5 separate regions of the Homo sapiens genome follow, and all the other regions are linked to region 5. Evidence: promoter capture Hi-C in 16 types of primary human blood cells and fetal thymus (Javierre and others, 2016). All regions are on one chromosome and are shown on one strand. Each heading gives the region's core, a stretch centred on a gene start or on the middle of the fragment in contact. The rest is flanking DNA. Distances are from core to core; before and after follow the strand shown.

Evidence for each region. The method cuts DNA at HindIII sites, captures the fragments that hold promoters and counts their contacts. A CHiCAGO score of 5 or more calls a contact.
Region 1: a contact is called between a fragment that was not itself captured here and the fragment with the promoter of REPS1 in region 5, in 1 of 17 cell types (total CD4 T cells). The highest score is 5.7, in total CD4 T cells.
Region 2: a contact is called between the fragment with the promoter of ECT2L here and the fragment with the promoter of REPS1 in region 5, in 2 of 17 cell types (endothelial precursors and megakaryocytes). The highest score is 7.7, in endothelial precursors.
Region 3: a contact is called between a fragment that was not itself captured here and the fragment with the promoter of REPS1 in region 5, in 8 of 17 cell types (M2 macrophages, megakaryocytes, endothelial precursors and 5 more). The highest score is 13.4, in M2 macrophages.
Region 4: a fragment that was not itself captured here is called in contact with the fragment with the promoter of REPS1 in region 5 in 5 of 17 cell types (naive CD8 T cells, non-activated CD4 T cells, total CD8 T cells and 2 more); the score reaches 7.0 in naive CD8 T cells.

The regions. Positions count from the first base shown.
Region 1 is chr6:139,226,843-139,231,762 of GRCh38, forward strand. It overlaps a transcript of TXLNB not described here. Among named protein-coding and RNA genes, the nearest start is that of TXLNB, 63 kb to the right of the region's middle. The HindIII fragment of the contact is 6,911 bases long and covers 1-4,920 here.
Region 2 is chr6:138,794,548-138,799,634 of GRCh38, forward strand. ECT2L (epithelial cell transforming 2 like) reads left to right here and starts at 1,540. Exons shown (of 22, transcript NM_001077706.3): 1 at 1,540-1,645. The HindIII fragment of the contact is 4,734 bases long and covers 1,307-5,087 here.
Region 3 is chr6:138,814,342-138,819,075 of GRCh38, forward strand. ECT2L (epithelial cell transforming 2 like) reads left to right here. Exons shown (of 22, transcript NM_001077706.3): 4 at 150-262. Among named protein-coding and RNA genes, the nearest start is that of ECT2L, 21 kb to the left of the region's middle. The HindIII fragment of the contact is 6,618 bases long and covers 1-4,625 here.
Region 4 is chr6:139,186,979-139,191,481 of GRCh38, forward strand. It overlaps a transcript of TXLNB not described here. Among named protein-coding and RNA genes, the nearest start is that of HECA, 54 kb to the left of the region's middle. The HindIII fragment of the contact is 1,237 bases long and covers 1,119-2,355 here.
Region 5 is chr6:138,986,666-138,991,529 of GRCh38, forward strand. REPS1 (RALBP1 associated Eps domain containing 1) reads right to left here and starts at 1,588. Exons shown (of 20, transcript NM_001286611.2): 1 at 865-1,588. The coding sequence starts at 1,017. RefSeq lists silencers at 1,090-1,389, 1,580-1,819. The HindIII fragment of the contact is 2,634 bases long and covers 1-2,614 here.

The sequences.
Region 1 (4,920 bases), core at 609-3,108, 240 kb after region 5:
ATGGCAAAACCCCGTCTCTACAAAAGATACAAAAATTAGCTAGGCATGGTGGTGCACGCCCATAGTCCCAGCTACGCGGGAGGCTTAGGCATGAGCATTCCTGGAGCCCAGGAGGTGGAAGTTGCCATGAGCTGAGATTGCACCACTGAACTCCAGCTGGGGAGACAGAGCAAGACTCTGTTTCAAAACAAAACAAAACAAAACAAACTACAGTGAGATCCCAGGTGTGGTGGCTCATGCCTGTAATCCCAGTACTTTGGGAGGCCGAGGTGGGAGGATCATGAGGTCAGGAGTTTTGCCAGCCTGACCAACATGGCAAAACCCTGTCTCTACTAAAAATACAAAAATTAGCCAGGTGTGGTGGTGTGTGCCTGTAATCCCAGTTACTCAGGAGGCTGAGGCATGAGAATCGCTAGAACCCGAGAGGTGGAGGTTGAAGTGAGCCAAAATCACACCACTGCACTCCAGCCTGGAGAAAGAGTGAGACTCTGTCTCAAAAACAAAACAAAACAAACAAAAAAAAAAACGACAGTGAGATATTACTATACGCTTCCAAATGGCTAAAATGAAAACAACTGATACATGATGTGTGGGGAGGACATAGATCAATGGGAACACTCATACACTGGTAGTTGAAATTATTGTTACAATCTATTTGGAAAACTGATTAGTAGTATCTCCTATATCTGAAATAGACACATGTCATATAACCCACCAATTTATCTCCTACATATACACATAGGAAATATCACAGCAACATTATCTGTAGTGGACACTAATTGGAAACAATTCCAATGTCAGTCAACATCGGAATAGATAAGTTGTGGTATATTCATACTATAGATCACTATATGACAATGAAAATCAATGAACTACTCCTACAAGCCAAAACGTGGATGAATTGCACATAGATAGTTTTGAGCAAAAGAAGCCAGACATAAAAGGATAACTTCACAAAGTAAAAACAAAAACAAAAAACAGCCCCCTTACACACACAAATGCACACACGCACAGGCACTCATATACACACACAGGCAAAACAAATGTGCTTTTCTCTAAGAAGGAGGGAGGGGTAACCTGTAGGATGCTTGACTATGCTCTATTTCTTGACCCAGGTGGTGGGTTACATGTGAGAATTCACTTTGTAATAAATCATCATTTTTGCAATAAAGAGTTTTTAAAGATATGTTGAGAAATTAAAATGAGAAATGAGATTTTGGAACTATTTCCATAGAAGTTAATTATTAGAATTTAGACCTCTTTTCTTTTGGTGTGCCACCATGGTGTAGCCATTCATGCTTCTTCTCATCTCTGCTACTCATTGCTGTTTGGATGCAGATGACAGCAACCCATCCAGCAACGCAACCATACCCTCTTAAAAAGGGAAACTAGGCTGGGCGCAGTGGCTCACACCTGTAATCCCAGCACTTTGGGAGGCCGAGGCGGGTGGATCACCTGAGTTCAGGCATTTGAGAACAGCCTGGCCAGCCTGGCCAACATAGTGAAACCCCATCTCTACTAAAAATACAAAAAATTAGCTGGGCATGGTGGTGGGCATCTGTAATCCCAGGTACTTGGGAGGCTGAGGCAGGAGAATCACTTGAACCCAGGAGGCAGAAGTTGCAGTGAGCTGAGATCATGCCACTGCACCCCAGCCTGGACAACAAGAGTGAAACTCCATCTCAAAAAAAAAAAAAAAAAAAAGGGAAGTTAATGGATCTAAAAAGACCAACATGTTCCAGGGGCTGAAATATGGTTACCAGGATTAAGTTTCTCTTCTTGCAACTCCACTCACCTCCTCTTGGCTTGATTCTACCTGCAGGTGATTCCTCTTGGTAGGCAGAATTACAGCAGAAAAAAACCCAATAGCTAGGTTAGACTGGACCCCACTTGGTACACGTGGGCGAGCACACTGGATCGGAGTGGCTTCAGTTCACACAAACCCCCAGATAACGTATGAATAAAATTAGTGTGAAAGTGCAACTTCATGACAAGCCAAATAGTCTCCTGCCCCACTTTCAACCCAGTTGCAGTCCATAAGCCCTCTTCTATGGCAGTTCTGGAGCTGCCACTGTCTTTGAACTAAATACTCTATCAAGTGTTACACTGTTTTAGGCCCGTCTCCTGAGGCCAGGACTGGGTGAGTGGGTAGGGCTCTGTGCTTGATGGCCCCATCCAGACTGCATGTATCCAGGACAAAGTATTTTTTCCAAGGAAGGGACATGGGCAGGAAAAAGCGATATGTCTGCTCTTTGCTAAATAATTTTTATTTTTGCACATTAGGGAAAGATAATCAATACTTCCAAATTGCCCTTTGAAAGAACTCCTACAAATGTACGAGAAAAGGACAGATGACCCAATACCATATTGACAGTTTCTGAGTATACCCATTTGCCCTCATCCTTTCTAATACTGGGTATTATCAGTATGAAAGTTCTGTCAGGCTAATGAGCAAAAGTGATTGTGTGTCATTTTAAAATTTTATTTATTTATTTTTGAGATGGAGTTTCTCTCTTGTTGCCCAGGCTGGAGACCAATGGCGTGGTCTTGGTTTACTGCAAACTCCACCTCCCGGGTTCAAGTGATCCTCCTGCTTCAGCCTCTCAAGTAACTAGAATTACACGTGCCTGCCACCACGCCCGGCTAATTTTTGTATTTTTAGTAGAGATGGGGCTTTACTATGTTGGCCAGGCTGGTCTCGAACTCCTGACCTTAGGTGATCTGCCCGCCTTGGCCTCCCAAAGTGCTGGGATTACATGTGTGAGCCACCATGCCTGGCCTGTTTATTTTTATTTACCTGATGTGTTTTAGTTATTTGTATTTCTTCTTCTACAAACTGCCCGTTCACATCCCATGCCAGGAGCTTAGAAATGAGGGTGGGACACACAGCGGGTGTGATCATCTCTGGCAGGGAGGAAAACTACCACTCACATTATTTGGGACTGCTGTGCATGGTGACAATAAAAAGCAGACTGGCTTGTGGTTGGTCTTATTACCATTAAATATTCTCTGATAGACAATGCACCTCCCACCCCATCTTCCATTGCCCTTGCCCACTTTCTTCTGAGTTGTCTTTTCTTATTACTTTGTACTATTTCTTTTTTTCCTGGACGTTAATGCTTCGTTGTATTTACTGTGACTATATTCTCCCAATCTATCCTTGGCTTTTATTTATGTTTACCTATTTTGCTCCCTTTAACTTTTGAAGATTATTAATTAACACGTGTGGCAGACAATTAGTTTGTTATAAAAAGCTCTCCTTCTCCTTCCTCTTGGTATTGCTTTAAATTACTCCCAGACTGAATTGAAGGACTTCAATATCGGTTTTCTAATAATGGGCAAGGGAGAAGCCAGATGGTCCACCTACAACTATATAGCTAGTCAGTGCTAAATATTTTGGGGAGATGAATTGTATCACAGCAAAAAATCTCTTGGCACAAAGAATGAGTTATGGGCATGGCTGATAGGCCAGTAGGATCTGCAATCAGTCCTGGTTTACTACCTTCTGACTCACTGATTAAAACATAAATGGATTGGACACTATTTCTCTTTGGCTTTTGGTTCAGGGAAACTATTCAGGGGCTTGATTTCAGCTGGATAATAGCAGAGAAAAAGGAGACTGGGACTCCGCCTCCAAGGACGTCACCCTAGTTAAAGATAGTAACCATCTGAAGAGCTCCTCTCCGCTTAGGCAGGCCAGAATCAATTTAGCCTGTTTGCTACCACTTCTTGTGCTCCATGCTCTGCAGCTGGTCTCTGTGAGGAATGGCATGGAGAATTTCTCAAGACATACTCCTTTTCTTGCCTGGGGATGGAGCTGTGAGTCCATGATGACTGTCACATTGGGCTGGTGGTGCATGCAATTATTTCATGAATAGCTGACACTATACTTGCAGCCTCACACACCTGCCTGTTTGTTCAGAAGCCAAAAAAAGTGAGCCTTGTGACATTGTAAGCAAAAGAGGATTAGTTGAGCAAACAAAAGTCTGCAGCAAGATGGGATCCTATGAAAAAGTAGCTAGCCACATGACTCAAATTACATCTGCAGTGTTTCAGCTTTTCAGTTCCCAGCCCCAACACATACACATTGTAAACTTGCATATAACCATCACCCTTACATAGGCTCCATTACTTTATTATGCATAAATAGAGTCACATGCAACTACAAGCATTCATATAGAACTACATACATACAATGCACTCCCAGAAAACTGCACATACCGGCACGTTTTACACACAAATATTCATACGTACCCTCACACACAAGTACACACTGACACATAAATACATGAACACACAAATAACCACACACACATTTCATAAAACCCCCATTCTCTAGCAAGAACCTACACTCTCTACTTGGAGATCTGGGTATCATTTCTAATAAACATGCTGTCAGAGTTTTCCTTCTTGTTTTTTAGTTGCTGAACATTTTGGGGTGAATGAGACAGCCCAGAGTCTCTTCCAGGCCCTTCCCACGGTGCTGAGTTCCTAGCACTGGAAGTGGAAGGAGTCATCAGGCCTGAGTCACACAACAAGGTGCTCTGATCTGGAGCAGACAGGGTCAAGGTGTGGGTGGTCGTGAAACACTTTGCTTAGACTTGTAACCACTGTCATTCCAGGGGCTAGCACAGAACCTCATGCAGAGAAGGCCCTCAATGTATGTTGAATAAATCCTTCATCTTTCCCTATTTAATTTTTAAACTTAAAAGAAATTATATGAGTAATTTCTTGTCTCCTTTTTCTTGCCTGACTTAACAGAAGTAACCCAAATGACGTGCAGGTCTCATAGAATAAAACTCTCCCTGGAGGTGGGGAAACTTCATAATCTCTTGAGATTTTAATTGGAGACACCAAAATCCTTACATATCTAGTAAGGAATCTCTAGTCTGAGGTTCTCATCTTATAGGTGAGTTAACT
Region 2 (5,087 bases), core at 290-2,789, 190 kb before region 5:
GGAGGAGAGGGACTTACTGAATATTTTTCAAATCTTGATTTTAATAATTTTTGGCTTTCTGAATTCAAAGTATTTTGATCAGTAAATTGGTCTTTTTAATACCCCTTTTAAAAATTACAGCATCATGGAGGAAACTTCATTTGGGTTGTGAGAATAGGGATTTAAGGGGGAAAAAGTCGTACTCTAGGGTCTGACAGGGCGAAAGGACACTTTGTCATGTGACATGTTTTTCTTGGATTGGTCCTGAGATAGAGTAAAGCAAAAAGCTGGTTCCTGCGGGTTGTGACAGAGCAGTGGATTGACCTTGTTTATTCACTTGGTTCATTCGCCCTTTGTGTCACAGGGCCCTAAATGGGTCCCAGGTAGCGAAATATTAGCTTATCTAATTTGTATCCTTTCACACTCCTTAAACACATGTTCAAGGAAACAGGAAAAAATGCAGTGCCTGGATTAGAATAAAATTTAAGGCCTGGTTTGGTGACAGGCACCAGTACTTTTAGCTACTCTGGAGGCTGAGGCGGGAGGATTGCTTGAGCCCAGGAGTTCTAGGCTATAGTGTACAATGATGATTTTACTGGCATACAGATGAAAAAGAAAAAGATATTTGAAATAAAAATAAAAATATAGTGCACAATGACCAGGCCTGTGAATAGCCACTGCACTCCAGCCTAGGCAGCATAGCAAGATCACATTTCTCATATGAAACTTTACTAGAATGAAACTTATGGTTTATTACATAGATGTTGCTTATTCGTTGTAGGAAAAATTGAATTACAGATGATTTTTAAAACTACCAGAGCAAACCATTTAACCTATTTGTGTACATACTCCCAGATTTCTTACACACGTTGCAAAAAAAATAGATCGTACCATTCTGCTGGTTTTCTAAGCTGCTTTTTGTAAGTAATGTACTGTGAGCATCTTTTCATGGCCATAACTATTACATACAAAAGAAAAAAACAGGCTTCACAATAAATAGTTAAAAGACATTTTGACCTGAAACTAATGAAGAAGGGTTTTTTGGTTTTGTTTTTGTACCTCCTGTATAATGCTGAAATTGGTAATTCTGCAGTAAATATTAACATTTTCTGAGGATCTGCTGAAGATGAATGTGACAAAAAATAAGAAACTCCACTTTCCTCATCACACAGCCTTAATTAACATCGCTGGCTTTGTTTGAGATCAAGCAAACGTTGGCTTCAGTGTCCAAGTCTCTTCTTGGGGTCCCACGGCCTTGGGTCTGGCACCTCTGCTGGGCACCTCGCAGGGCTTCCGAGACGTGCCGCGACCCACGGGACCCCACGGAAGCTTTCTCCCACCGCAAGCTCCCTGGAGGCAGGGAAAGGAGCCGGGACCCGAGCCTAGCTGGCCTCAAGAGAAGGGCGGTGGCTCGCACGGCGCGGGCGGCTTTGCTCACTGCAGCTGGGGAGATGCAGGTTGGCCGTCCGGGCGCGGCGGCGGGAGGGGCTGCGGGCCTGTGGGGCGGGGTGGTGGCTCCGTGTTGTTGGATCCCTATGGAGATGACCCTGTCCCTGCCCCACCCCTCTCCGGAGCTGCGGCCCGAGTTGGCGCACTCGATTTTCACTGCGCGGTTCCAAGAGGAGACAGCCGCCACTGTACCGGGCCTCATAGCCACTTCCTAGAGGTAAAGCCCGTGGCTTCTGAGCCGCTAGTCTTTTTCTTGGGGCCGCCCGGGGCACATCGCCTGGGCCGGCTTAGTTTCCCAGTGCAGTCGCCCAGGAAGACCCTAAGCAGCGCTGAGGGGCGCAGGGCCCTCCCTCCGCGACCCTGGAGTCCCTTAGCAGCTCTGGAATTAACCAAGATTCTGAAGAGGCTCTGGGGAGAAACAAAATCCACGCGTAGGGTAGGGTTTGCATCGGGCCATGCCAAGTAAACTCTTACCTCCTCCAGAGAACTGATTTGGGATCGAAGTAAAGTTCTTGAACACTTTGGAAAACGCTGATTTTCATAGGTTCACACCAACTGCCTTCTTCCTTCTGACAGTTCTCTCCCTCTTTCCTCCTATGGGGTCCAAAAATGTAGGGAGTAGGGTGGGGGCTGGGTTGGGGGAATGAGGGAGGAATACAAAAAATCTACTGTGAATATAGGTCTTGGTTATAAGGATAGCTCTAAGAGTTAATATGCTAAGATTTGATGAGCAGGACAAATAAAACAGTGGTACTTTAAAATATCGATTTAAAAATACCGATGCTGTGCTTATTAATAAACTTTGCATATGTATCAGAACACAATATCCTGACATCATTGGTGTTAAAGTTCACTGCAACCCATGCAATTGTATCCAAGCCTGTTAAAGTCTGTTCTGCAGGAACTGACATTTGTGCTCCACAGAAACCTCAAAAATCATGCTCTACAAACACTTATTTCAGTGGGAGGAAGAAGGGTTAAGGACTTGGAAGTTTTATAGCAACAGTTGCATCTTGTTTGTTACAGCTTTAGTTTTATAGCTTTAAACTTATAAATCAGTGAGCACATCCACCATTTGAAAATACCAGCACAAGTATGGTATTTTCTATCACCGCCTGTAAGATCAATAGCCCAGGTTTCCTCAAAACACGCCATTATTTTCATTATCCATTGCTTAGTGTGTACTTAATAAAAATTATATACTGGCATGTAGTTTTACATGCCCTAAATGTGGGACATTTAACTCAACTGGAATTGTCTTTCATTTCTGTTTTTTCACCAATCACACTTACTTTTCTTCTACTCCCGTTCTTTTGTGCGATCTTTAGAACCAGATACCTTTTTGGAGGCATATTTAAGGAAGTAAATTTTTGATAAATAAAGGAATCATTGCACAATTTGCATGTGTGAATTGCAGAAGTACGCGCATGTAGGTACATACCTCTGCCGAGGAGCAGTGTTTTAATTTCTAAGCCACTCTGTCTACTGTAGTGGAGAAGGACCAGACTAACTTGCATTTCTCCAGCTGTATAACAGATAACCTGTGGAAACACAGTTAATTGACATCATTGCTCTTCTGTGTGATCCCAGTGAGGATTTAGCTCTCTATATGGGCTGGCAATTGTTCAGCCATTTCATCTTTTAATCTGGCTTTGGTTGTTCTGAGAGGAAAAAAAAAACAAAAAACTTTTTTCTCTTTACTCTCACACACTCAGTACAGCCCTTCACCTCTTGTCACCAAAATGTATGGGAATTTCTTCCCACCGACAACCAATTCTCCAGTGGCCACCAACTCTACGTCCTATAATTTAACCCAGTTCTGACACTGTGTACCTGGAGTTAGTGTCAGATCCCATACGTTCAGGGCTCAGTCCCAAAAGACTGCCCCCCACTTCAAATGCCAATCACAAGTCCCAGGTTGTGACTATATGTTGTTTATGATTAACCAACCAGTTACAAATCTGGATTCCCACAAGCCCCTCCTCCGGTTTGATTAATTTGCTAGAGTGACTCACGGAATTCAAGGAAACACTTTACTTATGTTTGCCCATTTATTATAAAGGATATTACAAAGGACAGATGAATAGCCAGATAGAAGAGAGGCCCAGAGAAAGGTATGTGGGCAAGGGTGTGGAACTTCCATGCCTTCTCAGCCCCTCCACATGTTCAGCTATCCCAAAGATCCCTGAATCTTGTCCTTTGGGATTTTAATGGAGGATTCATTCATAGGCACAATTGATGACATCATTGGCCATTGGTGATCACTCAACTTGAGCCCTTCTCTCTTCCCCAGAGGTCAGAGGATGGAGCTGAAAGTTCCAGCTGCATAATCACATGGTTGGTTTCCCTGGTAACCAGCCCCCATCCTGAAGCTATCTAGGGGTCCACCAAGATTCACTTCATCTGAACAAAAGATGCTCCTATCACCCAGGAAATTCCAAGGGATTTCGGAGCTCTGTGTCAGGAACTGGGGTCAAAAACCAAATATTAGAACAAAAGATTCTCCTAGCATCCCTATCTACAAGAGTTTTAGGAGCTGTATGTCAGGAACCAGGGACAAAGATCAAATATATATATTTCTTATTATTCTACCATATCACAGGTTGTCACACAACAGGCCCCATCCTTCTTTTGACTAAGCATGGAAGTGCCAATGTCAATTTCCGAGTTCCTCATCAATATACCAGTTGTAAAGGATAGTCAGCCACGACATAGAAGTGTATTTCCAAATACATCCGTAGCAGTTGTTAAAGCAAACTAAATATGGCCTAAGATGGACTCTGTACTTTTATATTTGAATGCTTGTGGGTGAATTGCAACCTAATTTAATAGGTAGACAAGAATGAAAACCTAACTTAGGAGTATGTGCCTGTAATAATCGCTGAGTCTTGGCCAATCCCAGGAGCCGTACTTCAACCACTCATACACTGCTGAGTGTTCAAACTGTGTTCAAATAAGGCAAATGCTGAGCTGTAACCAATCCAGCTGTTTCTGTACCTAATTTCTGATTTCTGTACATCACTTCATTTTTTTGTGTATAAATTTGTTCTGACCACAAGCCACTCCGGGAGTCTCTCTGAATCTGCTGTGATTCTGGGAGCTGCCTGATTCACGAATCGTCCATTGCTCAATTAAACTCCTGTAAATTTAATTCGGCTGAAGTTTTTCTTTTAATATCCTTTTATATCCAATTCAAATTAAACTTACCCTTCAGGAAAAATCTAGTATAATTTTGAAACTTGATAGGCAATTACTACCTGTGTAACCTTGGATGATTTTCTGATTTTTTTTTTTTTGAGACGGAGTCTCGCTCTGTCACCCAGGCTGGAGTGCAGTGGCACGATCTCGGCTCACTGCAAGCTCCGCCTCCCGGGTTCATGCCATTCTCCTGCCTCAGCCTCCGGAGTAGCTGGGACTACAGGCACCCGCCACCACGCCCGGCTTATTTTTTTTGCATTTTTAGTAGAGACGGGGTTTCACTGTGTTAGCCAGGATGGTCTCGATCTCCTGACCTCATGATCCGCCCGCCTTGGCCTCCCAAAGTGCTGGGATTGCAGGCGTGAGCCACCGCGCCCGGCCTCTTTTCTTTTTTTTTGAGTCAGGGTCTCACTGTATCGCCCAGGCTGGAGAGCAGTGGCACAATCTTGGACCTTGGTTCA
Region 3 (4,734 bases), core at 67-2,566, 170 kb before region 5:
TTCTCTCTATATGTGAAAGCGCTCTGTGAACTGTAATGCACTCTGCAAATATTAGCTGTGAGGTTGCTGGTAGATTGTCTAAAGATTGCTTAGCAATTAAAAACAATGAACTGTACAGCAAATGTCACTTCCTCCCCTCCCCCTTATAGCTCTTTCAGGAAAGAGTGGCTCTTATAAGTCATTGGTTTGACCTCTGGACTAACAAGCAACGTCAAGAATTCTTATTCGCAATTTTTTTAAGATGCACTAAATCACAATTAAGGTAAATGTAGCCTAATGATGTAATTAACATTGATTCTTAAAGAAAACCGTATATAAATGTTTATATAACCTTTAAGAGATTTTTTGTTCCTAGGGAGAAAAAAAAACAAGGTAATTGATATTTTAAGGTTTATAAACAGACTTTTCCAGTGCCTGCTTTTGCCTTGAGGCTGAAGTGAAGCCGTGGGGAGGATTTAATGCTTTCATACTATGGTGGGACTGTTTCATGTTGGCAAAAACACAATGGCTTCAGTCAGTGAATTTTTAACATTCTCTTAGCATATTAAATTTTCCTTGGAACCATCAGACAGACAATATATTGCAAATGGATGTCTGGGACATAGGTAGGCATAATCATTAAATGAATGGATGGATCTACAAAATATATGACAAGTGACAGTGGTTGAAACATTTAGGAATATGGGCAAGACTTATACAGCCCTAGTCAAGGATTACGAAGAGGGTTCTCTTTCTCTTTCTTCCCCTTCCCTCATGTTATGTCTGTAATTTACTTTAAAACACTCAGCACAGATGGTGTGACATCTGTGAGTTGAAGTTATGCCCAGGGTCAGCTCCTGTTCTGGTCAGGAATGAATACCCTAGGGGTCATTAGCCAGCTCTAGATTGGAAGGTCACAATACCTGAGTTATTAGATACTTTACTAATTAGCATAGCAAATATCAGACATTATTCTCAAAACAACCCGTGGCTTGTTAACCAGCCAGATGAATGTTAGAAACGGATTCTCTTTCGTGAAATTCAAGATATGTGTGGACTGACCGAAATATTCTAGAGAGCCCTCCAGCTTGCCTGGGTGTGGTTGAAGAATCCAGCCAGGCTGGTAGCAGGTACGTGGCAGGATGGTTTTCCAGCCCTCAATGCCAGATAAAAAGCCTTATGTTAGTCTGGAGGATTTCTGGTAGCCCGAGGCCAACAATGAGGGTAAAAATAATAGAATACTATTTCTGAAACATTGTCCTTTTGAATGAATCTTTTGCCCAGAGGAGAAAGAGCTGGGACTTCATCAGTCCTACAGAGGAGACTGTGTGAAGTTGTTTGGGCTTATTTACTAATGTTTGTTTAGAAAAACTCTAGGTATGGCATCATTTGATGTTAGGTACTTTCACTAGAACTTGGTGGTGAGGTTGCAGGAGAGGGTAACCTTCGGATGTCTTAGATACCCAGCAAAAATATCTGAGAGTGGTGCATGATCAAATTGGCATATTTTAGGTGGAGTACTTGCTTCCTGTTCTTTCTTACATGTTTTCCTGCCAGTCTCTTTTGATCAGCCATTTTTTCTCTCCTCCTCACCTGTCAGCTACTCCTGCATCTGTGGGTGCAAAGCAGATTGTTAACGGACTCTCCCCATGGAGTCACTGGAAGGAGACAGGCATCTTCCTGGCTCTGTTGAAAGAGGCTGCAAAGACAGGGCACAGATAAACAGGCCCTTCAGTCAATGTTGAAAAATCAGGGGGAAGACATTTTATGATAGTCATTGGCTATGTTTCTTTTTACTCCAACTTTGCAGCTTTCAAGATAAGAAAATAACAGACCAGACCTCACATTTATAACCACTTTGTGCATCATGTTCTAGGCTCACGTATCATAAACCAGGCAATTTTAGTTGTGACCACTGGAGGTCATTAGAGATCTTATGGTATATTTTGAAGCAGCTTAACTCAGGCCTGACTTTTTGTCACTGGAAATTGCATCCTTTGTCCGGTAACTGAATTCTTTTTTCTGTGAGACAAGAATATAAAACTAACCTGTTCAGTGAAAGTACTTTTTTTTTTTGTTTGTTTGTTTGTTTTTGGATAGCAGCAGCATTTCTTCAGAGAGCAGACTGTATTTCATAGTTTCATGAATGTTAGTATAAATTTCCTTTAAACATTTTTTTTTTGAGATGGAGTCTTGCTCTGTCGCCCAGGCTGGAGTGCAGTGGCGCGATCTCAGCTCACTGCAAGCTCTGCCCCCGGGGTTCATGCCATTCTCCTGCCTCAGCCTCCTGAGTAGCTGGGACTACAGGCGCCCACCACCACGCCCAGCTACTTTTTTTGTATTTTTAGTAGAGATGGGGTTTCACCGTGTTAGCCAGGATGGTCTCGATCTCCTGATCTCATGATCTGCCTGCCTCGGCCTCCCAAAGTGCTGGGATTACAGGCATGAGCCGCCGCGCCCGGCCTAAACATCTTTATTGAGATATAATTCACATACAATAAAAATCACCCATTTACGGGTACAATTCAGTGGTTCCGGTACATTCACAGAGTTGTGTGATCATCATCACATGTTAAGTTTAGACCATTTCATCATCCCACAAAGAACCCCCCTACCCATTAACAGTAACTTCTCATCTCCATCCCTCTAGATCTGGGCAAACACAAATCTGCTTTCTGTCTCTATAAATTTGCCTATTCTGGACTTTTCGTATAAATGGAATTAGACAGTATGTGGTCTTTTGTGACTGGCTTCTTTCACATATTATAACGTTCTCAAGGTTCATCCATTTTGTTACACATGTCAGTACTTCTTTCCTTTATTGCCAAATATTATCCCATTGTATGGATGTGCCATATTTTATTTATCCACTCCTCAGTTGATTATTGTAAATAATTATTATAAATAGTGCTGCTATGAACATCTGTGTCCAAGTTTTGCATAGAGATGTTTTATTTCTCTTAGCTATACATATAGGAGTGGAATTGCTGGGTCCAATGGTAGTGCAATCAATTTTTAATTATTAAGCATTTCTTTTGGATCATTTATTCCTGTAGTCTTGCTTACCCAATAACTGTAAATAAATTAATAAATGAAAGAAATTAGTATTATTTGAATACTTGAAATGTTTATATGTAAGCTAGGCTATATTTGTGCAATACCTTTCTTTCAAGGTAGAGAGGCCATTGTTTTAGATGGTTTTATAATTTCCAAATAATTTTGTTTTAATTCAGTCAGTTATAAACAGGGTATTGCAATATTGGTGGAAACTGTCAACACAATTTTCTTTTAAAAAATTATTCATAATCTCTATGAGATATATTCAAATATCTTAGAGTTTTCTTTCCTGGCCTAATAAGTATTCCCTAGTAAGTTTTAAGATGATTTCCTAAGTGGAATTTTATGATATTTAAGACATTTTTTAAAGGTTTAGCTTCTTAAACCATCCCTCTGGCAAACTAAAATGTCCCTTCTCCTGGGAAGACTTCTCTGCTGGTCTTTCATGCCTAGCAACTTTATACCTCAATTGTGGCTTTTCTTGGTATGTTATGGCCCCGTGTCGTCCACATGACTAATGGTTTCCAGTGATGTCTTTCCCCTACCACTTGACTAGGTTGACCTTTCCTGTGACTCCTTAAAGGAAACTGGGCTGCTTGTGTCTGTTACACTCAGAGAAACCCGTGAGGAGTTTGAATCAGTCCCCTTGCCACACTGGTGGAACCGGTTTTGAATTGCCTCTGCTTAGTGCCTGGTAATTCCTCAAACAAAGGCCTTTGGTTCCAGAGCCAGAGCTGCTCAAACTTGCAGCTTTCCTGGATGGGTGGGGCAGCATTCATGCAACTGCATTCCCTAGAGGGGGAATGCATTGACCCAGGTGTGTATGTGCGTGTGCGTGTGAGATCATAAACAGCCCATGAAGGATTCACTCTCGTCACTTGTCTCCATCAGAGCAGACTTGAAATGGGGTTGGAGGGCAGAAAAATATCCACCAAGGTGTATTAAGAGAGAACAGCCCCCTCTCCCACTTCATTACCCCCTCTTCCATTCTTCCCACGCAGCCTGTGAGGGCTCACTTGAGGACGTCTGTCTCAGCTGTGATCTGTGAGGCAATCTGGTGTGCAGTTTTTCAGAGACAACATACTCCTAGGTTAATTTTAAATATAGAGCAGCCATGTCACTCTCAGTTACTGAATGTCCATTTAAAAGGAGAGTATTTCTGTGTGGAGATGGTAAAGAGGTTAAAGAAGAAAACATCGAATGAAACTTGCTGAAGACAGTAAGGCGGACGTTACTGAGAACCTTGGAGATAGCTACAGGGACTGCTGCATGGGGTCACGGGAGAGAGATTGGGCTCAACTTCAAATGCAGCATGGGCGGATAGCCAAGGAGCAGGATGGGGCTCAATGGATGGAAAATTACTCGAGGAAACATCAGGGGTAAGCGGGGATCTGAATACACTGACCCAACAGGACTCTCGCTGATGACAGGCCAGGGTGCTCAGACAACACCTGGGGGAGGGTGGAGGATGAGGAACCTGACAAGATATCCGGGGGTGGGGGGTTCTTCCTAAACTGACTTAACAGGGCTCTTTACTAAAGCAGAATTTTATAAGGAAGTGCACAGGTGGGCCAAGGGGAAGTTTCAGAAGCTTGACTAAAGTTTGGTCAAGCAGAGAATCTTTGTCAGAGAGGAGAGGGGAGTATTCAAAGTGAAAGTGTACACTTGTATCTAAAACGACTGTTTTCTAAATATCCA
Region 4 (4,503 bases), core at 487-2,986, 200 kb after region 5:
TGATTGCAAAGGGCATGAGAGAATTTGGGGGTGACTGATGTGTTCACTGTCTTGATTGTAGTGATGGTTTCCCAGATGTAGACATCTGTCAAACTTATTAAATTGTATACTTTAAATATGTTTAGTTTATTCTGTGTCAATTATACCTCCATCAGCCAGAAAAAAATACCCTCTTCTCCCCCCTGCACCTCCCTACCCAGGATAACTTGTATATCATAAACATTTTATTTATATTTAAATCAGTAATACACTTTCATTTGACAGATTTGGTTCTTTAGACCCTCTAGTTGTAGGACTACACTTTCTTGCAAACCTTCATTTATGATGCACTGTAAGAATGCTTCCTATTTGGTTCTCTTTAAAGTGGAATTGGAACTTAATGACACATGAGAAATACTATAAATATAGAACCTCTCTAGACTTGTAGGATTTCCATTTTTTAAAATCTTTTGCTTTTTTTTCCCCATGTTTAATTCAGTATTTTGTGTATATGATTTGCCTCATCTGCTCAAAGCATCCTACTGAGTTATCAAAACAGTATTTTTTTTTTATAATTATATTTCATTGGTTTGTGCACTTTTTTATTAAATTACATCATTGCAATGGCAAACGTAACTGTGGCATAAGCAAGTCTGGGAATAAACCTGAGTAACTTTTGGTAAGTACAGAACTCTGCTGGGGGAAACCATATGCAGATGGTGCCTGATAGCGAGGAGGCTCCCAGCTGCCAGCATTCATCTGGCCGAGGTCATTCATCATAGTGTGGCTTTACAAAGCAATTTAGAGGCAGTTAATTGCTGGATTGGTTAAGGAAAGGTTGATTGAGAGAAGATTCTACTGCTCAAGCTCGTTTAAATCCTTACTTCCCTCACCTGTAAATATTGAGTCCCTACCTGGGGGTGTTAAATGAAATCATTAAATTAAGTGTTTATTGCAGTCACTGGCATGGAGTAAGTGCCAAAGATGTTCCGTATTAGGATCATTTATGTTATTTCTGGAAGCATTCTTATGTTAGGGCAAGATTGTCTGACTCAACACTTATTTTACCGATGAGGAAAATGGCTCAATGTTTGATGGCCTTTTCCATCACCAACCAGTTAGGTGGTAACCCCTAAGAAAGCTTCCCAGGGGCCTTCTTACTAAGAGGCTCCTGAAGAGTTCTCTAATAGCAGTGGAGGAATTGCAGATCCTGTGTCATGGATACAGGAGCTTCTGAGAGTGGCTTTACTTTATGTCTCTCAAATCGATGGGTGCGTTGATGGAAAGGGAGATAAAACCAGGCCTCAGTGAGGCAGTGAGATGAGAAGAGGGTTGAGAAAGTTGTGCAACTGGCAGGCAGATAAAATCTGTCTTAATAAGGATGGATAGAAATTTTGTGACAGCCGTATTTGTTTTTTCCCTAGTTGGGTCAGCTTCAAACTGAGACCTGTGCTCAAAAACCTATTTCTTCTTTGGATGGAAAAATGATCCATTTGTTTCTCTTATCTAAAACAGGATCTGTGATCTACCCTAACATGAAATTTTAAGTGTAGATTATTTTTAAAAAATCTAATCGAAATTCTGACAAAGCATTTGACTTATAAGGTTTGCATTTTTGTATTAAGAATTTTATTGAACTGAAAAATTTCTGAAAGAGAAATTTCACTCCCAACGTCTCTCATTTACATTTTTGTTAGATTTATTAATGCATATGTAGCACTTTGTATGTATGCCGGGAAGCAAGAGCTTTTTGAAAAATTGTGTTGGAATCTCAATTGTTTTCCAGATTTCTTTTTCTTTCTTTCTTTCTTTTTTGAGACGAAGTCTTGCTCTGTCGCCCAGGCTGGAATACAATGGCATGATCTCGGCTCACTGCAACCTCCACCTCCAGGGTTCAAGCAATTCTCCTGTCTCAGCCTCCTGAGTAGCTGGGATTACAGGCATGTGCCACCATGCCTGGCTATCTTTTTGTATTTTTAGTAGAGACGGGGTTTCACAACATTGGCCAGGCTGGCCTCAAACTCGTGACCCTCAGGTGATCCACCCACCTCAGCCTCTCAAAGTGCTGGGATTACAGGCGTGAGCCACCATGCCCGGCCCAGATTTCTTTAACCTCGTATTCTATGTAGGTGGGATATAACCTGTGGTTCTTTGGAATTGGGGTTTTAACAGTAAGCAATCATATGATGTGTAGTGTAAGAAGCACTAATGTTTTATTACAGCTTTCGGGGTAAAAGCATTGCAAAGGAGGTGACAGGCGTATTCTGTTGCCCAAAAGTTTATGATTTCTCTTTTGATGTTTTTCATGTTGCATGTTTGGATTTGCATTAGTTGAAAGTTCTAAGAAAATATCTAGCAAATTAAGCTACATGTGAAAGCTTTATTCAAAACTGCTAAGCATTAAAATTCAAAAGGATGATTTTATCTAAGAAGAATATTTAAAATAGTCAAATTAGTGTTTTTTATTATTAGAACTGCCTCTATATTGAGGTTAGAGCAAGTACTTTGGCATTTAGTTTTCTTGGTTTATGTGTAATTTTAATTAACAAGATATTAATTATGAGTCTGAGGATTTCAGAATTTATTATTAAACCCAAAAGAAAGGAAATAAGAAAGGTCTGAAATAAATGGAGTTCTCAACTTGTAGAGATGTGCTCTTTTTGAAAATACAAACTTCCAGGTCAGATTTCCAGTTTGGGCCAAGGAAGTAAGCTTTCACCTCTTCAAAGACAATATTGTCTTTGCAGCTGTGGAGGTTTGCGGGGAGAGAGGTCAGAGCCAGATGAAAACAGTTTTATAGGATCTATGTCAGCATTTAGCAAGGTTGATCTTGTCGGGTATGAAGTCACTCAGATGGGGGATACAGAGATATTGCTAGCTGTTGTACTATGGAAGTCACGTGATGGGATTCCATGTAAATGTCACTCCAAGTAGGCTCTCCTCTAGGGCAGGGACTGTCTTTGACAACTTCTATCCATAATGCCTACTATAGGGCTGTGCCCATTAGCTGTCTGTCAAACAAATGTGCTGGCAGCTGTGGGGAATTCAGACAATTTTCTTTCCTAGTTTTGTGTTTTGGGTGCCTACTTCCTTGGGGATTCCTTTCAGAAAACCAAATGTCAAAATATTAACAGTAAAGAAAATACCTGGATCATAAGAACTGCCTTCATATCTTACACATTTAGAATAAAAGTGATTCTTAGTCTGTTCAGGCTGCTATAACAATACCTTAGACTGCGTAACTTATAAACAACAGAAATGTATTATTTACAGTTGTAGAGGTTGGGGAGTCTAAGATCAAGGTGCCAACAGATTTGGTGTCTGGTTGAGGGCCTGTTTCTTTCTTTCTTTCTTTTTTTTTTTTTTTTTTGAGACAGAGTCTCGCTTTATTGCCCAGGCTGGAGTGCAGTGGCACGATCTCAGCTCACTGTAACCTCCACCTTCTAGGTTCAAGCGATTCTCCTGCCTCAGCCTCCCAAGTAGCTGGGACTACAGGTGCCCACCGCCATGCCCAGCTAATTTTTGGTATTTTTAGTAGAGACGGGGTTTCACCACATTGGCTAGGCTGGTCTGGAACTCCTGACCTTGTGATCTGCTCACCTCGGCCTCCCAAAGTGCTGGGATTACAGGAGTGAGCCACCACGCCTGGCCAAGGGCCTGTTTCTTATAGATGATGTCTTCTAGCTGTGTCCTCACATGGCAAAGGTGTGAACAAAGCATACTTGGACTTCTAAGGGCACCAAACTCATTCTGATTAGATCAGAATCCTGATAATCTAATGACCTCCCAAAAGGCCCCACCCCTTCTGTTGTTTTTTGCTTTTGTTTTTCTCTTCTTTTCACAGGTGTTGAAGGTCCCACCTCTAAAAGCCATCACCTTGGGGCTTAGAGTTTCAACATATGAATTTGCAGGAGGAGGCACAAGCGTTCAGACCATAGCAGTGCTCCTGTGTGGGATTATTTAAGTAGTTAAGATTAAAAAGTTAGAAAACGTCAGAAAAAGAAGACACCTTAAAAATCCTGTTTCCCAATCCCTGTACTGTATAGAAAGGGGGACAGATACAAGAATTGCTTAGAATCAAGACCTCTAGAGCTGTGCCATTCAGTACAGCAGCCTAGCCACATACTGCTGTTCAAATGAAGTTTAATTTTTTTTTTTTAATTAAAAATCCAGTTTATCTGGCCAGGCGCGGTGGCTTACGTCTGTAATCCCAGCACTTTGGGAGGCCGAGATGGGCGGATCACCGAGGTCAGGAGTTCAAGACCAGCCTGACCCACATGGAGAAACCCCATCTCTACTGAAAATACAAACTTAGCCGGGCTTGGTGGCACATGCCTGTAATCCCGGCTATTTGGGAAGGCTGAGGCAGAAGAATCGCTTGAACCTGGGAGGTGGAGGTTGCGGTGAGCCGAGATTGCACCATTGCACTCCAGCCTGGGCAACAAGAGCAAAACTCTGTCTCAAAAAAAATAAAAATAAAAAAATCCAGTTTATCAACTGCACTAACGATATTTCAAGTTCTCC
Region 5 (4,864 bases), core at 338-2,837:
CATACTGTTTAGACAGACTCCTACTAGCAGCTATGAATCATTAAACAGAGTAGCATTAATGCTCACCACATACATTAGATAAGAACTTCTAGGAAGTCCTCTGTTTCAAAAGCAGATATGATAAAAAAAGGCTTTAAACCTACAGGGTTTGCTCCTCCAGGGCTTCAGATTAGGGCAAATAACGCACTTCTGCCTACCAGCTGTTCAATACTCATCTCCCAACCCAAATCCACAAGTTCCACAAATGCTTTCGAATGCCTGTTGAAAAACATTGTTCAGTCTCATCACATACACACGTTCTACAGATAATTACAACTTCTTGTATGCCTACTTGTAAAACTACTAAGTAGTTCACATTTTAAAAAATTTCCCTAAGAATTTTGCTTCCTTTAAAAAAACTGCTTCTTCGATTCCTAAATCTATAGAACTCACTTTATCACGTCTTCTCGGTTAATCCAAGAATTAAAAAAACCATTTTGCCCATACTGATAACTTTACTACTCTGCAGGATCCGAAAAGCTCTCTATATGCCAGGTTCTAGGATTCACACACATTAACAACCTAAGATCCTTCAAGTGAGATAGCTCTTGCAGTACAGAGCACAGATTCTCAGGGTCGTGGGGGATACCGGCTGAGGCTCTTCAGACCCCCACCACAGGAGTTCCGTCCTCTAAGGGCAACCCCCTCCCCCTTGGCCGCGGCGCGAGTCCAGGCCTCCCGGGCACCTGCGGCCCCTGCCCGCTGCGGGGACCCCCCGAGGAACCAGCCCCCCGCCGGGCCCCAAGGAATCGGCGCCCACTCCCACTCCTGGAGGCCAGTGACTGCAGGCCTAAGCCGCCCGCCGGCCCCGGGACGCGACGTTACCTGTAGGACCACGTCGTTCGGCAGCTGCGCGGCCCGGAACAGCTCCAGCACCCGCCCGTTGACCACCACCTTCTTGGTGCTCTCAATGTCGCAGTAGGAGAAGAGATCTGAATAGTATTTCTGCTCCGCATCGCTCAGCGTTAAGCCTTCCATCTTCGCCTCCGGCTCACGGCCGCCCCGCCCCGCATGCACTACTCGGGGCCCGGCCCCAGGAACCTGGGCCGGCAGGGGCTGCGCGTGGCCCGGCCTCCTGCTAGCTTCCCGAAAACGCCGGCCCCGGCCTCACACGCGCCAGGTGCGCCCGAGCAACAGGGCCCGGAGGTCGCGAGGAGGGGGCCCGGCTGCGCTCGCCGCGCCGCTGCCTGCGAGGCCCGGCGCGCGGCTGCGGCTGCGGCTGCGACTACGGCTCCGGCTCCGGCTCCGGCTCCGGCCGCGGGGAGGGTGCAGAGAAAGAGGCGGGGGCCGCGGAGGCGCGAGGCACTGGCGGACTCCGCCCCCGCCGCGGGTTCGAGTCTCCCCGGCTCCCTGCCGATTCCCCCAGACTTCCCGCCTCGGCTTCCCCTTCCGTCCACGCCTCCGGAGCGGCAGCGCTTCCCGGAAAGTTGTGGGGCTTCGAACCTAAAGTTTCGGGGGATCTGGGCTGAGCGTGGCCGCCGCTCCGCCTCCCTCCGCCGCCATTTACAGTGCCCCGGCCCGGCCCCGACGCGCCCGCACCAACAGTGACAGCGGCGGCCGCGCTCCAGACCCGGATGTGAGGCCGGGAGGAGAGAGCGCGAGAGGGAGAGAGAAACACCCACCGGGCTGGCTTGGCCGCTCCCGGGAGAGGGAGGAGGCCGCAGCGCCCCCTGGTGGCCGGCGCCCGGCGGCGGGATGACCGAGCCGCCCTCTGCGCGGAGATCTCAGCAGCAAGACCCCCGGAAAGGGGGGTGCAGTGGGAAACAGCCGGCAGCTCATTAAGACCGAGATAACTAAGATCCGGGTTGCAGTTTTTATGTTTCGCAGTTTCTGGTCCTAAGCGTCTGAATAATTGGATTGAAAGGGGAGCCTTGTTCAGGTTATTATCATTCTATCTGTACCTTTTCGGTACAGATGAAGATAAATGCAGTATTTCCATCTGTTCTGAAGGGCTATGAACATCCGGGCTATGAACATCCTGGCTATCCGGGAAGCCTCCACGTAGACACCAACATTGAGGCTTCATCTCACTCGTGCTTCAAGCCATGTTTACCTGAGAAACAAAATGTGCTGAATAGAGGGGAAAACTGGCAAAGTTGTCCTCTTTGTTCACCAGGTCATTCCGGTCACTGGGAACTTAATACTCTACATTTATACCTTCAACTCTATCAACTCATGTAGGCCCGGGGCTGCCCACAGGGGCTGCCTTCCGTATTTTCTCCTTTATGAAAATCATGGAGTGGCGCTCTTTTAATCTGCACCTGTCCCAGAGAGGGGATTCTTCAGCTATTTCAAGTAGAATATCTTAAGAATTTATACTTAGCAAATATAAAATACTTCAAAGACGGGAGCTAAGGCAGAATTACCCAGAGTTCTGGTTTTTATTTTGTCTTCTACAAGTTGTTTCCCAGAGTGCGGATCCTATAAATGACACATATGAGGAAATTATTACAGGTTCCCAGTCATTTATCTGTAATTGCAAAATTCAAAGCGCACTGAAAACCCAAAGACTTTTTTTTGTAACCCTTTGGAAGTAAAACCTGCCCTGCCTCATTTGGAGGCAAAATCTAAACTAAGCTTGCATGAAGCTATTTCTAGCCTTTATGGATCCCACTTAGTGTCAATATTTACTCATTTCACTCCAGGTCTTTGTAGAATGTTAATATGTACACAGTCACAGGCATTCTATTATCTTTCTATTTTTTAAGAAAGATAAGGGATTTTAGACCTGTCAATGTCTTCTGACTTGACTAGTAGTATTTGATAAAGGTAAGTATATACTATCCATTAAGCTTATTTCCCATCTCTAAGACTTTCAGTTTGCTACAGCAGCCCCTCATGTGTCCTTTCAGGGCACCTGCAGCAAGTGATCAGACCCCCCCCAGACAGCTGCCTTCCAAAGGTGTAAACAGAAAGAGCACAATGGGGTAGGGATTGGCTCACAATTGTCTTTGCATCTTTTTCTCTGCCACCTCTCCTAGGCCTTGCAGCTCTTGTCGGCCCCAGGGCCTTTGTTCCTGCCATCTAAAATAGTCCTTCCACAAACCATGGCATGGCGTATTCTCTCATATGGTTTCAGGTCCCTGCTCATATGTCACCTCCTCAGAGCAGCCTTCCTGCAACAGCTGCTGTAAAATAATCCCACCATGCACTATCCCCTTATCTGAATTCCTTTTTTTTCTCTTTTGAGACAGAGTCTCCCACTGTCACCCAGGCTGGAGTGCAGTGGCATAATCTTGGCTCACTGTAGCTTCGACCTCCCAGGCTCAGGTGATTCTCCCACCTCAGCCTCCCAGGTAGCTGGGACCACAGGCCCAGGCCACCATGCCCACCTAAATTTTGTGTATGTGGCTTTTGTAGAGACAGAGTTTTGCCATGTTACCCAGGCTGGTCTCAAACTCTTGGGCTCACCCACCTCAGCCTCCCAAAGCGCTGGGATTACAGGCATGAGCCACTGCACCCAACCTGAATTCTTTTTCTTTATAACACTTTTCACTATCTGACATTACATATATAGCTGTTACATTTTTAACGGCTAATTATTGAATAATTACTAAGTTTCAGGCATTGTTCTAAAGCTTTACACTAATAACCACATTATTCACAACAACCCTATTAAGTGGTACTACTAGGTTTTTTTTTTTTTTTGACAGATTAGGAAACTGAGGCAAAATGGGTTAAGTATTGTGTAAGTCATGTTGCTATTAAATACCCGGATCTGGGATTCAAACTCCAGGCTGTCTCAACTCTAAAAATCACTACCCTATCTTGCCTGTCTAATTTCTTTGTTAAGTTTGTTATTAAGAAAATATTTCTTCACCAGGCATGGTGGCTTATGCCTGTAATCCCAGCACTTTGGGAGGCTGAGGTGGGTGGATTGCTTGAGCTAAGGAGTTCAAGACCAGGCTGGGTAACACGGTGAAACACCATCTCCACCAAAAATACAAAAATAGCCAGGCATGATGGTGTGCACCTGTGGTCCCAACTACTCGGGAGGCTGAGGTGGGAGGATCACTGGAGCCCAGGAGATAGAGGCTGCAGCGAGCAGTGATTGTGCCACTGCACTCCAACCTGGGAGACAGGACGAGACTCTGTATCAAAAAAAAAAAAAAAAAGAAGAAGAAGAAGAAAGAGAGAGAGAAAGAAAGCAAGCAAGCAAGAAAAGAAGGAAAATATTTCTTCATTGCCACAGTGCCAAAGCCCAGTATGTGACACATAATGTGTATCAATAATAATTTGTTGAATGAATGAAAGCATCAATTTTGACATTGATGTGATAAGCCATTCAATACAGTAAGTCCTCAATTAATGTTATTGTGGATAGGTCCGTGGAAACTAATTTTAAGCAAAACAAGGTATTCTAACCAAGTAGTTTAGCTTCAAAAGAAAACTTTTTTCTTTTCTCCTTTCTTGCCAGTCTCAAGCTGTAACCTTGAAACAAACTGTAGAAACCTTTTCTCTTTAGTCTTAAAATATAGCCTTGAAACATACTTTGAAACTCCACTCCCTTCTATTTCCCACAATGTACTCCCTTACCCAATGCACATTTATCTAACTGTATGCTTCTTAAAAATTCCAGGGGCTAATTTAAAATGAACTAGGCACAAAGGCCCAGCTGCAGAATTGTCCCCCACTTAAAGATTGCCTCAAGATAGATAATCTGCAGCCTGGCCACAGGCGAGATGACGCCAGCCTGCATTTTAGATGGACCATAACTCAAGATAGGCGTTGAAGCAAGACACACAGCCCGGGCTCCCGGCACAACTCTTGCATGTTTCCCATATCAAGGTTCCCTTTTTGAAACCTCTGCCTTCAGCCCAGACTT